5 separate regions of the Homo sapiens genome follow, and all the other regions are linked to region 1. Evidence: promoter capture Hi-C in 16 types of primary human blood cells and fetal thymus (Javierre and others, 2016). All regions are on one chromosome and are shown on one strand. The core of a region is centred on a gene start or on the middle of the fragment in contact, and the rest is flanking DNA. Distances in the headings are between cores, read along the strand shown.

Region 1 (2,516 bases), core at 11-2,510:
ACCATCAGCCCCACTACACTCCTCTTCAGTGGATTACAAAGTGGCTACAACTCACCAATTCAGTCCTGGTTCACTTATGACCATCTTGGAGCTCATCTTCCTAGATTTCTGCTTCACTCTAGCTCACAGTTCACAGCTGCCTGGCTGCGAAGGCTCCAAGAGGCAGGATCCCTCCAGAACTTACTCAGCTGAGTAAAAACAAAAGGCCAAGATCAAAAGCAAGTGATTGGCTAGGCCAGGTGCTATTAGGTGAGGAAGAATCTCTCCCTAAACATCTACCCTCAACAGACTGTGGCACCTAAAACAGAATACAGCAGACCCAAGGTTCTTTGTAGCAGAGCAGCAATGACGATACAGGACGAGCCCTTTTCCATTTAATCTACGCCGGGAGTGTTACTCTCAGGACACTCACTATGGAAATAAGAGCTGAAACAGAACGGTGTTCTCATTGCTTACATACTAGGCCACTTGATGGCATGGAACGGGAAGTCAACTCAGTTTTCCATTCCCTTACTGCCAAAATAAATCTTTTGTTTTCCCGACCATGCTTTGTTATGGGGCAGATTCTGGCAGGCACTTTATGACAAAAGCTACCTCGATATCAGGAATCTTAGGCCTTTCACAAAGAACCTCACATTTGAGAAGACTTGAGGTCAACTTAAGTGACATTTCACAAGATCACTTACAGACATCATCAGGACTACAAATCAGGCTTGATCTCTCATGTTCAGTACTTCTCCTGTGACCCCAGGCAGACTGATAAAGTGACCTGCGAGAACCTAATCAAATTTAGGAGTCGGTCTCTCGACACCGAACGGGCCCGACCGGCTCCCACTTAATCTACCTCTCACACTTCGACCCAGTGTGGAGCTGGGGGGGAATAGTCGAGGAAGGCAAAAGAAACGGCTGAGGGAAAGGGGACGCAAAGAGAGGGGAAACAAGGTTCCAGAAAAGCAGGTAAAAGGGCAAGCAAAGCAGGGGTAGGAGCCGCGCAGAGCCAGGAGCAAAGGGTCCTGGCCCGGCCGCCATGTTCCCTCCTCCCGCCCCTGCATGAGCACGCCCGCTGGCCCGGCAGCGCCCTCCCGTCCGCGTCTGGGCTGCAACACAGCCTTTCCGCCCACCTCATGGTCCGCGGCGGCTCTTGCCCAGGCCGCAGCCACACACCACACACGCTCCACCCCACTCCTCACATTGTCGCGCGCGCCCAAAAAAGACCATATTTAAAGGATGTGGCCGCGCCGACTCGGCCCTGCGTGATGACGTCTCAGCGACATAGTGGGCGGGGCCTTGCGTCTTGACGGCTGCTCCCCTCCTTTCCTCCCGCCACAAGCGCTCGCTGTGGTTCTGGCAGCGAAGTGCGAGACTGGGCTCGCCAGGCGGAAGTGGTTGGAGACTGCGTGTTTTCCTAGAAAGTCCTCGACCTTCGTCGGGGAGAGGAGGGGAGTGATAAATTGGAAGGCGGACAAGCGACAAGTGCGGTACTGGAAAGACCCAAACATACTTGGTTGTGACCTCAGGCAAGTTTCCTGACTTCCGTAACCCAAACTCCTCATATGTAAAATGGAGATGAAATTGTTACTGCTGCATCATACGGTTTTTTGGAAAGGATTAAATGAAACAAAGGAAGAAGCTGTGCTCTGCACAGTACCTGGCACATAGTAGGGCCTCATTAAGTGCTCCTTCACCTCCGCTCCACTCCCCATCCAGTTTTAGCTGTGAGTTCAAACACTAGTTTTGTTCTCATCCATTACGGAAAGATTTATTGACCGTAAACAGAGTACTTTGTGCTTGGTGCTGGGTACACATGGACTAAGACTGAATACTGATTTTTCCAGTGCTTTGGATCTCTGGCAATCTAAGACATTTACATTAAATACAATAGAAAGTAATAAACTACATAAGAAAGGTGTATAGATTGAGGTTAGAGGGAGAGGAATAGCTAGTGTGAGGGACAAAACGCAGTTTTGAATAGTATTGAGTACTTACATGTCAGTTGCTGCACTGAGCACCTGCCGTGTGAGCTCATTTGAAGAATGTGGGTATGTGGAATGAAGAGAAAGGGCGTTCTAGACAGACCAGCACAAGTGTCAAAAGACAAAAATTTGACACATCTAAAGATCTCAGTTGGCCTTATTGCGATTCTGGAATCAGGCAACACTTCATTCCATAAAATGGAATGAGTGTCCCAATGAGTGGAACAGAGGAGGTTGGCATTACGGACAGAAAAAAGGTCTGTAGAAAGTAGAAACAAAGAACAAAAAGCAGATTGATCATTTCAAAGTTACTTTCCTGGTAAGGTGGAGACAGACAGTACAATAGAAAGATAACTGATTGGTTAACATCAGGTTACTTCAAGTTACTCTTTGCTGTAGGGACTAAAACAGAGGAAATTCATTATCTTGCTGATTGAAAATTGAAACTGGCCTGTTACCTCTGTCTCCTGATTTCTTGGAGGGCCACATAACTCAGTTTCGGTGTGGTGAGCCTGAGTGATACCATTTTTATTTTAGTCTGGT
Region 2 (2,516 bases), core at 9-2,508, 460 kb after region 1:
CTATCCTGGTGGTAAATTACATTACAGAACACTAAATAGGCCATCATGTCAGCTTTGAGCCTTGGCATTGCTACTTCAAGATGAGTAGAAGATCACTTCCAAAGTCACACATGGGAGGATCAGGGGCCAACACCTCCAACCCTATCAGCATTTTTTGAAAATGTTTCACTCTAATAGTGATGGTGAACATTCTAAGATCCTAAAAATTAGAGGCTGGGTCACAAGATTAGATCACTGAAAGAAATTAAAGATAAAATTGTTGGCTAAGATGATTTCTAATAGCCCCAAACCAGAAACAACCCCAAAGGCCATCAATTGGTAAGGAATAAACAAACTGTACGTCCATACGATGGAATACTATTCCAGTAATAAAAAGAAATTATAATACAACAACATGGATGAATCTCAAAAACATCCGCTAGGTGAAAGATGTTGAACAAAAAAGAATATGTATTATATTATTGTATTTAGATAAAACTCTAGAAAAGGCAAAATACAGAGACAGAAAGCTGATCTGTGGAAGCCAGAGGCCAGGTTGCAGGGGGACGGGATTGAGAGCCAAGAGGCCCGAGGGAACATTTTAGGTGAGGGAACTGTTCTATGTATTGTTTCAGATGGTGGTTATGGTTGTAAACAATAACCAAAATTCATCTAACTGTATGCTTATAACTGGATTACATTGTATGTAAATAATATTGTAGTCAGCCTGTAATCCCAGCAGTTTGGGAGTCCGAGGCAGGTGGATCACGAGGTCAGAAGATTGAGACCATCCTGGCCAACATGGTGAAACCCTGTCTCTACTAAAATACAAAAAAATTAGCCGGGCATGGTGGCGCGTGCCTGTAGTCCCAGCTACTCGGGAGGCTGAGGCAGGGGAATTGTTTGAACTCGGGAGGCAAAGCTTGCAGTGAGCCAAGATCGCACCACCGCACTCCAGCCTGGCAGCAGAGTGAGACTCTGTCTCTAAATAAATAAATAAATAATCATAATATTTTAGTCAGTGGAAGAAAAGGAAAACAAATGTTGACCAAGGCAAATGGCCATGATTTTTCTCCTATGTGATAGCAGACCTGCAAGAAAGAAGTGGTATTGTATAGAAAAACAAGTTATACTCATTAGACAAAATCAAATGAGCCAACTTTGTGAACCTAAGCTTGGAGACACCAAACACTTCATAATTTTTATGGCATGGTGATAAGCTATTACATATACCAACCCTGGGATGGAAAAGCCTTGTCAGTTGCAGTTCAACCTCTGGTTAATTCAAGCTGGGTCTAAAAGGCACTAAATTGAGTGTGGTTTCACTTCCTTGGACTTCAGGTTCCTTGTCCTTGAAGTGGAAGGGTTGGATGAAATGGTTGTTAAAGCTTCAAAATGATACAACTGTGCCAGTCTTTGCTCAACTCCAAGCTCTTTAATGTGTTGGCGTCTCGCGATTCCATTTAGCTATTAGGACCCCAGGGCCAAATCTGGCTTGTCCCAATGTCATTGTTCTACAGAACCGGGTGAAGGGGCCTAAGATACTTGGAGGAAAGTCTACCAGTGCCATGGTCAACAGTGGGCCCTCCCAATGAGACAGCCTCGGGCTGAGTTCCCTGTCTGGACACAGCAGCCAGTTTCTATGATGCTTTCACCCAGAGGTGTTCTTGGAAGATCTCCAGTGTACTTTATTTTTAGTTCCTTGGTGAGTGCTCACTTTGTATTCTAAGAAAACTTTTAGATCTCAAGACAAGGAATTTTTGATCTCACTTTTTTACGCAATTATGAGTCATTCCACATGTTAGCATTAGCAACCCAAGACCTCCCTCTCCTCACTGATCTATCTTTTTCATCTCTTCAAAGATCCTGGAGGTAAGGAAGGGTTTTAAATGTTTGCCCTTGAAAAGAAAAGACGTGCAAACCGGAAACTGGTGACTAGCACTGCTGTTGTTACCAAGAAATAGTTTTTAAAAGCAGACATTTTAGGAAGATAATTGTTGATCTTTGCATTACCCACCAGTCCAGTGAGCAGGCAAATCTCCTATGCATAAAATCTGCTAAGTCTTCAAGCAAACTCACCTTTCCTAAAGGATTGAATTAAAACTTAATCCATAATATCTTCGGAAGATTCCCCCTAATTTTTTAAAAACATGGAATTTTTTTTTTCATGTGATAGATCTGGTTGAAAACCAAAATATCAGCAAAAGCCACAGCTCATCATAAACGTAACTATCTATGGAGCCCTTACATAATGGTCAGCTACTGTGCACACAGTAGATCTTTCAGACCTTACAACTAGATGTGGAAACTGAGTCTTAGTGAGTTTATGTCTCAAGGCCAAGGCTGCCTCGCCTGTAAACAGCAGAGCTGGGATATACACCCTTATCAGACCAAATCCCAAATCAGTGCTCTTCCCCCTAGTGCTTATTGTCAAATTCTGGTTTGTCAAATTGTCAAACCAGAACCAGGTTTCCGTTTTACGTTTCTATTCATAAGGCGAATTATGTGTGTTAAGCAAGATGTTCGGCAATTATTTG
Region 3 (2,516 bases), core at 13-2,512, 440 kb after region 1:
ACCACCCTGCCCCCAAATACAAAACTGGTCTCCAGACTGTATTTCTTGGCAACAGTGGCCTCCTTGGCTTTTCCTCCACATCCCCTTGAGTTGACTATCCTCTGAGGTTGCTCTTGCTATTGATTCTCACTGGATATCACTGGGCATGGGGAGGAGAAACCCACACAACGGGGTGCCTGGCATATGAAGAATAAGAGAAACTTTAGCTCTTAGAACTGCAGGAGACCCCTCGTTTAATAGAGGAGAAGCCCAGGGCCCAGCAGGGGTGAAGGAAGGTATGGTCCAATGTCACAAAGCAGATAAATGGCAGAGCCAGGCCTGGAGCCCACACAGGCCACCTCCGAGTGATTTTCCATAATGCAATTCCTTCATGAGGGAGGAGTTGTTGATGCCTCAAAATTGAGACTAGGCTACTATAGATAATACCTATATAGGGAGTGCCTCTGCATCCATTATAGAGGCTACTCTGGGATATTTAAATACATATTTTTTACCTGATTACGGCACCTATACAAAGACTCCTGTATCACATTCCTTTCACTGGTCAAGAGCAGGCAGACATTTGCACCTCCTGACCTGCAATGCCCCCCTACTAATAGATAATGAGAAATCTGAAGTCCACACTGATTCCCTTTTCCTCTAGCTGCTAGGAAGCTGAAAAATCCATCTTTTCCTTAGGTAGGAGTTTTCATTACGGTTTTCTTTTCCTCTCTTTTGCCTGATATCTGCTTTTGTTTTATATATTGTTTTGATCTTTTTGTACCTATGTTTTTAGTATAAAATTTCTGGATGCAGGTAGGGCTGTCAACTAATCAATAACAAATAAACAAATAATAATCTTCATGCTTGGTGTTCAACCATGCAGGAAATAAAATCTTATAGAACGTACAGAAGAGCCAGGAAGGATCACACACTCCACTGTGCTAACTGCATACGAAGGAGAAGGGGAAGAAGGCTCAGTTTTAGTGGAAAGGAATAGGAAAGAGAAGAGGCCTCTTCCTTTATCAGCTCCCTCACAGCTTCAGCAGCACTATCTCACCCCACTAACCAAACATCCAAAGGACTTGGAGGCAGAAAAGAAAGCTTCCGGAGACCTTGGAATTATGTATGCATCTATCTATGTATCTATCTATATATCTAAGTATCTATGTTTCTATCTACGAATCAGCCATTTTATCTTCCACCTCTATCATCTAAGTTAACCTTTCTCTAATATTTCTCTAAGGCTAATCTCATCATCTTTGTCTTAAAGAAGCAGACTCAGAATTAAGTAATGTTTTCAACGTCAAAGAATAAGTAGATCTGGGATTTGAACCTATGCCCATTTGTATGTGAAGCCCACATTTTTTCCTATCATATCACCCACATCCTCAGACCATGGCTGTCACCTGGAACTGTCAGTAGGCCACCCATTTTAGGTCTCTCTTAGGCCTAAAGTCACCAAGCTTTACCAGTACCCAAACTGGGTGCTAGGAACAACAGGCTGGGCACTAAGATATGACAGATGTGGATTACCACATACCCCAGGGAGAAGCCTACATACCATGGGTTCATAGTTAACAGCGAGCTATTACAATAGATATTGTTCATCCTCAAAGATGAAACTGTGATGAGACCATTGCTATAATATTGACAAATCTTCAGGTACACCAAATGTGAAGATGAATTTTATTGAAATCTTCATAACATTTTTCCATTTGCTGATAGTTTAAACAATTATGTTCATGTTTCTCTCTGTGAGATGACTTTTGGTGTCCTGAAATGACATGCTATTGTGTAAAACTACAGATGCAGGACACCTCAGTGGAGTTCTTTTCTTGCATTAAACTCACTTCAAGGAAGATTTATGAAGCCTTGAAGGTCTGGATTGGGCCTTGGGGCTCATGATCAACCCAGGACCAGAATATCAAGGCCTAAATTGCAGTCTTGGTTCTACCTCATAGCCTCCTAAGACCCTGTGTTATTCTCCAGTCTTATAGAACTAATCACATAAAGTGGTTAATTTCTTAACCTATTTGTAGAGACAAATGGGTGATAGAAAGAAAACTGGAGCTCCTGGTTCACATATGCCTACCCCATGCCCCTGCAATTCCACTGCCAGGATATATCCAACAGAAATCCATACTTATATCCACCTGAGGACATGTATAAGAATATTCACAGAGCCACTATTCATAAAAACCCCAAAATGGAAATACCACTAATTCCATCCCTAACAGAATGGATCAATCATGGCACATTTCTACCGTGGAACACTACATAGCAATGAAAAGGAAAGACCCATTGCAGGCATCAACATGGACAAATTCTATGCACAGAATGTTAGGCAGAAGAAGCCGTCCATAAAAGAGTACATAGCACATGATTCAATTTAAATGAGGTTCAAAATATATGCAAAAGTCATCTAAGGTGCTAGAAGTCAAGACAGTGGTTACCTCTGAGGAAGGGTAGTGACTGGCAAGGTCATGAGGTGGTTTTGGAGATGCTGATCCTATTCCATTTCTTTATGTGGGTAT
Region 4 (2,516 bases), core at 7-2,506, 420 kb after region 1:
GATCTGCCCACCTCGGCCTCCCAAAGTGTTGGGATTACAGGTGTGAGCCACCACGCCCGGCGATTCATGATGTTCCTAATGGTTCTGTCCATTTTTACAGCCCATCTCAGCTGAAAGAAATATCTAACAGTTCTGTTTATTTGTAAATTACACCCAAATAACTTAACAAGTATTTATGTCCTAACAACTTGATTTCTGAAAAAAAGAATACACATAAACTAAAAGAAAAATGAGTCCCATTCACTGTTAAATAATCGTAAGTGCTTAATAGTGAGATGCATGAGCCTGTTGGGCACTACGCAACTTCTCAAACTCTGGCATCAGGTTGGATGCCCTCACCCTTGTTTCCTGCTCCACACTGATTTTCACATGGTCCTGTTTTATAATACAGCAACTGACAAGAACTTAGCTTCTCAAAGGTATGACATCACTGAAAGAAAGTTATGCATTCCAGTAGTGAAACTGTGAACTACCTTGAGCTAGTAGTTCACACGGTGCCTGACAGATGTCAAGAATTGCTGTATTTTCCTCAACTATTTAAAATATTTCCTGGCACCCCTTTGAGGCCACTGCAATGTCCAGGGTGCCTCAGCTCACACCTTGGGAACCCGGAGGCTAATTAACCATAGTGAATCAGATTCATTTTCTATGCTACTACTGAAATATGAATTAGACAATATTATAGATAAAGCTGAATAATATGACTTGTTTTAATACAGTTCTAACTCGATTTTCTACTTCAATTCCATTCTTCAGCCATTGATATTTGGCTTTTTAAAAGCTGTCCTTGTAGTGTCATATGGTCACCAGATAAACTCTGCAGTGAAGGCTCTTTAGATTCAAATCTATGTTGAACTATTTCAATTTTATGATTTTTTTTTTTTAAAAAACAGAGAGTAACCCAAAGCTTACCAGGTGATCCTTCTTAGTAAAAGGGATTTGTGGGCTGTGGATCAGCTTCCCACTGATTCATCTGAGATGAAGACAGGACCCTCCATCCTGCAAAAATGGGTTTGAAAAAAGAAAGGAACTCTCCATTTACACGTGAGAATGGCTCAGCCCTAAGAATGCTGCTTGCAGGTTCACTGTTCTGCATTTAGAATCCAGGCCTAGAGAAGCAGCACGGCTTGCCTCTGCTGTGAATCAGACTCTATCTTGTGTTGTTTTAGAGTCATGTCTACATAGCTGAAAGATGATTTGGATCTTTTTCAAGAAGAGAGTGGTAAGGTGAGGTACAGTGAGGCAGAAGACAATGCTGGTCAATGCTTTAAAATCACTCTCTGAGAGGAAAACCCTTGGTTTCTACTCTCTGCTGATTTCTGTGTTAAAAATACTCCCACCGTGGTTGAACGAGGTCACTGAATTCAGAGTTAGGGAAAGAGGCACACAATCAGCTCTCACGAGCTGACTCTAGCCCTTCACTGGGCAGAACGCTTTTCTCCTCTTCTACAGCTGCCCACGGAATGCTCTGAATCTAGGGGCGTACTCCGCTGAAAGGAAGATTTATAAATGCTCACGTTTATTAGCTCCTAATTGAGGATATCTGCCAGACACAATAAATAAAGTTGAAAAACAGAGTGCTTTGGAGAGAAAGTAGGCTAATCCGAAGCTTTTTATTCAGGGGATGAATTCTGGTCTTCCTCTCTGTATATGGGACACTATCTTGACCTTTCTGGCTGAGTCTATTAGCTCAGAGGTGGCACTCCAGTGGTCAAGTCAACTGGCATTCATCAAGCACCAACCACAGGCTTGAAATTTATATTAGTTGTTTTGGAAGGTTCCAGGAGAAGACAATGTAGACTCCTGAGGAGGGGATGATGTAGGTGAGGAGAGAGGCTAATGGCACATGAAGCCTGCAAAACTGGGCTCTAGACTCTTCTCATTGCAGCTTCAGAGTAAATCAAGTAACACTGTCTGTCTTCCCAGAGGTACCCTTGGCAGAGACCAGCAGGATCTGTTGTTTCTACTGTTGGACGCGTTTATGGGCCCTATTGGCCGATTTGGCAAGCAGCTTTATATAAAATGTCTTCCGGAACCATCCTTTCCCCTGTGAGTCAGTCATCCTCAGAGTCCTAATTCTGTCCAGTTTGCATCAGGCCTCCTCAGTCTCTGTAGCCCAAAGCACACGATAGGGTACCAATGTTCAAGGCTCTGCTTTATTTTGAAATTCAGCTGGTGAAGCTATTATATTCTACCTTTCTCCAAGTAGTATGCAATGCAAAGTGGCAATTTTACACCGTGCTAGCCCAACATAAATTCACAGATGAGTGCACACCTTATTTGGAATAAAGAGAAACACAACAGTTATTAAAGGGGTGATTACCTTCCCAGGGACCATGAATTTAAAATTATGCAAAATCGGAGGTCGGTCTCTACAAGTTCACATAGTGATTTAAATGGGGGTAACAATGAATATAATATCTTCTAACATGTTAAAACTTCCACAGCAAACCTCTTATATAATGCTTTGTTGCTTCATTGATTTGATAAGTTTGTGGGGGTACATTTTGCATTCA
Region 5 (2,516 bases), core at 5-2,504, 380 kb after region 1:
AAAAAGAAAAAGAAGCGCTTGTATGAATTTTCATGTTATTTCAGTGAAGTCATAATAGAACAGCTTCCCTTCCCAGAGCTTGCCCAGAACAGCTATTTAAAGGGGGAGTGAGAACTGTACAAGCTTTGACTAGATTCTGAGGTCGGAGCCTTAATTAGAGTCACAATTGTATTGTACATCTATTTGTGTAACTGTTCAATTAGGAGTGTAATAGCTGGGACAGAGATCTTAATGAGCTTTTAGTGTCATGATGCTTCAAGACTGCCCTTTTTTGGTTGTTGTTATTATTAAGCTTTCATATAGGGGCTTTTCCTCTCTGCTGTCCAACTGTGTGGTTCTCCCTTCAGGCAGGTTGAAATGCAAGACTGAGTCTTGCTATATCTAAACTTGGGCATTAAAAATGGGCTGTCTTCCCCTTATCATCTTCATGATTAGCTTGTAAACAGTTTCTTGGGTCTATCCTGTTATCAACAAAAACTCTAGGAATACTGGAATATTAGGGCCAATCTTTTACAGTTGAGATAATTGAGATTCAGAAAGATGAAGTGAACTACTGGACACAGCACAGATAGTGACAGAGCCTGGGCTTGCACATTAGTGTTCTGACCTTTCAGGAACAAAACAATCACAATGCCTGTACATGTCATAATAAGGTCATTCTAACACTACAATGTACACCAGTACCCAAACTGGATCATTCATTTAAAAAAAATTCATTCCCGAAGACATAGTTTTTGTGGTCTTAATAGGTATTTTACTTAATTTTCCTCTGCCTTTCACTACTTAGACTTGGGTACAATTAAAGATGATATTTATATTTTGTGTTATATAGAATGAACAGCACTCAAACACATTCTTATTTAAGCAAATCTGGCCTACGAAAAGCTGTATTCATGAACCCTCACCAAATAAATGGTGAGGATGGTTTTTTGTTTTGGCTTTAGAAAATGATTCTCTGCCTTAATTCCCTCACATGTAAAATAGGCATAATACTGCCATCTACCTTACAGGATTGTTGGGAAGATTAAATGAAGTAATGCAGTTAAACTGTTTAGTAGACTGTTTCGCAGAGCTTCAAACTCAGTCAATACTAGCTGCTTTTGTTCTTATTCTTTTCATTATCACAAAAGGGTGGCCAGAAGATTATGCATGCCAACTGTCAGAATCTTTTTTTTTTTTTTTTTGAGACAGAGTCTCGCTCTGTCGCCCAGGCTGGAGTGCAGTGGCACCATCTCAGCTCACTGCAACCTCCGCCTCCCAGGTTCAAGCAATTCTTCTTCCTCAGCCTCCCAAGAAGCTGAGACTACAGGTGCGTGCCACTGTGCCCAGCTAGTTTTTGTATTTTTAGTAGAGAGGGAATTTCACCATATTGGCCAGGCTGGTCTTGAACTCCTGACCTCGTGATCCGCCTGCCACAGTCTCCCAAAGTGCTGGGATTATAGGCGTAAGCCACTGTGCCCAGCCCTCAGAATCATTTTTTATATTTTGTAGGAGGAGGCGGACAACTGGGGTGGCATGGTGGGGGTGGTTTAAGTGTTAATATTTTGAGATGATTAAAAAGGAAGAGAAAATGAATGTCAGAGCTTGTGAAAATGACTGTTGAGACAAAACAATTACTCTGTTATAAATTAATAATGCAATTAACTTATGATATGTTATTGAGTGCTTGAAGAATGGATAGCCCTCAAATATTCTTTTTAAAACCCATTTATTGCCCAAGATAAACTTAAGGGTAGTGTCACATTTTGAAAAATGTTATTTTATTGGCCATAATTTTTCACAGTTTCGATGGGGACTTAGTGACAGCCCAACACAGCAAACGTCCTTTCATGTTACCATCCTTGTTTTTTTTTTTTCTTTCTTCTAAAGCTAAATTGTCCTGGGACACTCCAAATGTGATTTATTTGTCCCAAGGCCAGTAGAAGTTTCCATGTAGGTGAAAATGGATGTTTGGCTAGTTGAAGAGAAACGGAAATGAGTTCTGCAAGCTGACTTACCCAGTGGAAATGGGTAAGTAACTCAGGAACATTATATCACTGTACATTCTGACTATAAGGAATTCTGGATAATTCATGTCCCTTATAGATACATATGAACTTACACATGATCTATCAGGAAGGAAGAAGACAGGAGCCCCATGAAGAGGGTGGGCATCTCAGTGCCAGGCCTTTGTGCTATGTGCTTTATTTACTCACTTAGTAATTGCAACGGTCTAGTGAAGCTTTAGGTTCCAAAGTCACAGAGCACCAAGTAACACTACCACTGGGATTTGTTCCACATTTGGTATTGCTAGTATTGTGGAGACTTTGTTTTACCTTGCCTCTTCCTTTGGGGAACAGTAGTAGGCATCCACTTTTACAAGAAAGTTGATGCTGTGAAGAGGAAATAAGAGGCCAGATAAATTCAAGGTAAAATTAATGAAGATATGTTTAGATCCTGGTTCTCCCATTGCCTGGTCCAACGTTCTTTCCACCACATTCCAGTCCTTAGGGATGAGGTAGAAAGAGAAAGATGTT

Evidence for each region. Contacts are between HindIII fragments. The CHiCAGO score rates a contact against its expected background, and 5 or more counts as called.
Region 2: a fragment that was not itself captured here is called in contact with the fragment with the promoter of ICE2 in region 1 in 1 of 17 cell types (activated CD4 T cells); the score reaches 5.4 in activated CD4 T cells.
Region 3: a contact is called between a fragment that was not itself captured here and the fragment with the promoter of ICE2 in region 1, in 1 of 17 cell types (activated CD4 T cells). The highest score is 7.3, in activated CD4 T cells.
Region 4: a fragment that was not itself captured here is called in contact with the fragment with the promoter of ICE2 in region 1 in 2 of 17 cell types (activated CD4 T cells and non-activated CD4 T cells); the score reaches 6.3 in activated CD4 T cells.
Region 5: a contact is called between a fragment that was not itself captured here and the fragment with the promoter of ICE2 in region 1, in 2 of 17 cell types (non-activated CD4 T cells and naive CD4 T cells). The highest score is 6.5, in non-activated CD4 T cells.

The regions. Positions count from the first base shown.
Region 1 is chr15:60,477,882-60,480,397 of GRCh38, forward strand. It overlaps ICE2 (interactor of little elongation complex ELL subunit 2), which reads right to left and starts at 1,261. Exons shown (of 16, transcript NM_024611.6): 1 at 1,122-1,261; 2 at 56-188. The coding sequence starts at 96. It overlaps RORA-AS1 (RORA antisense RNA 1), which reads left to right and starts at 1,297. Exons shown (of 6, transcript NR_120342.1): 1 at 1,297-1,517. RefSeq lists enhancers at 93-212, 535-1,062. The HindIII fragment of the contact is 13,398 bases long and covers 1-2,516 here.
Region 2 is chr15:60,939,962-60,942,477 of GRCh38, forward strand. All of the region lies in intron 1 of RORA (RAR related orphan receptor A), which reads right to left. Among named protein-coding and RNA genes, the nearest start is that of RORA-AS4, 180 kb to the left of the region's middle. The HindIII fragment of the contact is 214 bases long and covers 1,152-1,365 here.
Region 3 is chr15:60,919,080-60,921,595 of GRCh38, forward strand. All of the region lies in intron 1 of RORA (RAR related orphan receptor A), which reads right to left. Among named protein-coding and RNA genes, the nearest start is that of RORA-AS4, 160 kb to the left of the region's middle. The HindIII fragment of the contact is 362 bases long and covers 1,082-1,443 here.
Region 4 is chr15:60,901,410-60,903,925 of GRCh38, forward strand. All of the region lies in intron 1 of RORA (RAR related orphan receptor A), which reads right to left. Among named protein-coding and RNA genes, the nearest start is that of RORA-AS4, 140 kb to the left of the region's middle. The HindIII fragment of the contact is 702 bases long and covers 906-1,607 here.
Region 5 is chr15:60,862,641-60,865,156 of GRCh38, forward strand. The region is part of intron 1 of RORA (RAR related orphan receptor A); the gene reads right to left. It overlaps LOC102724802 (a long non-coding RNA gene), which reads left to right. Exons shown (of 5, transcript XR_001751785.2): 1 at 1-749; 2 at 1,870-2,010. Among named protein-coding and RNA genes, the nearest start is that of RORA-AS4, 100 kb to the left of the region's middle. The HindIII fragment of the contact is 1,929 bases long and covers 291-2,219 here.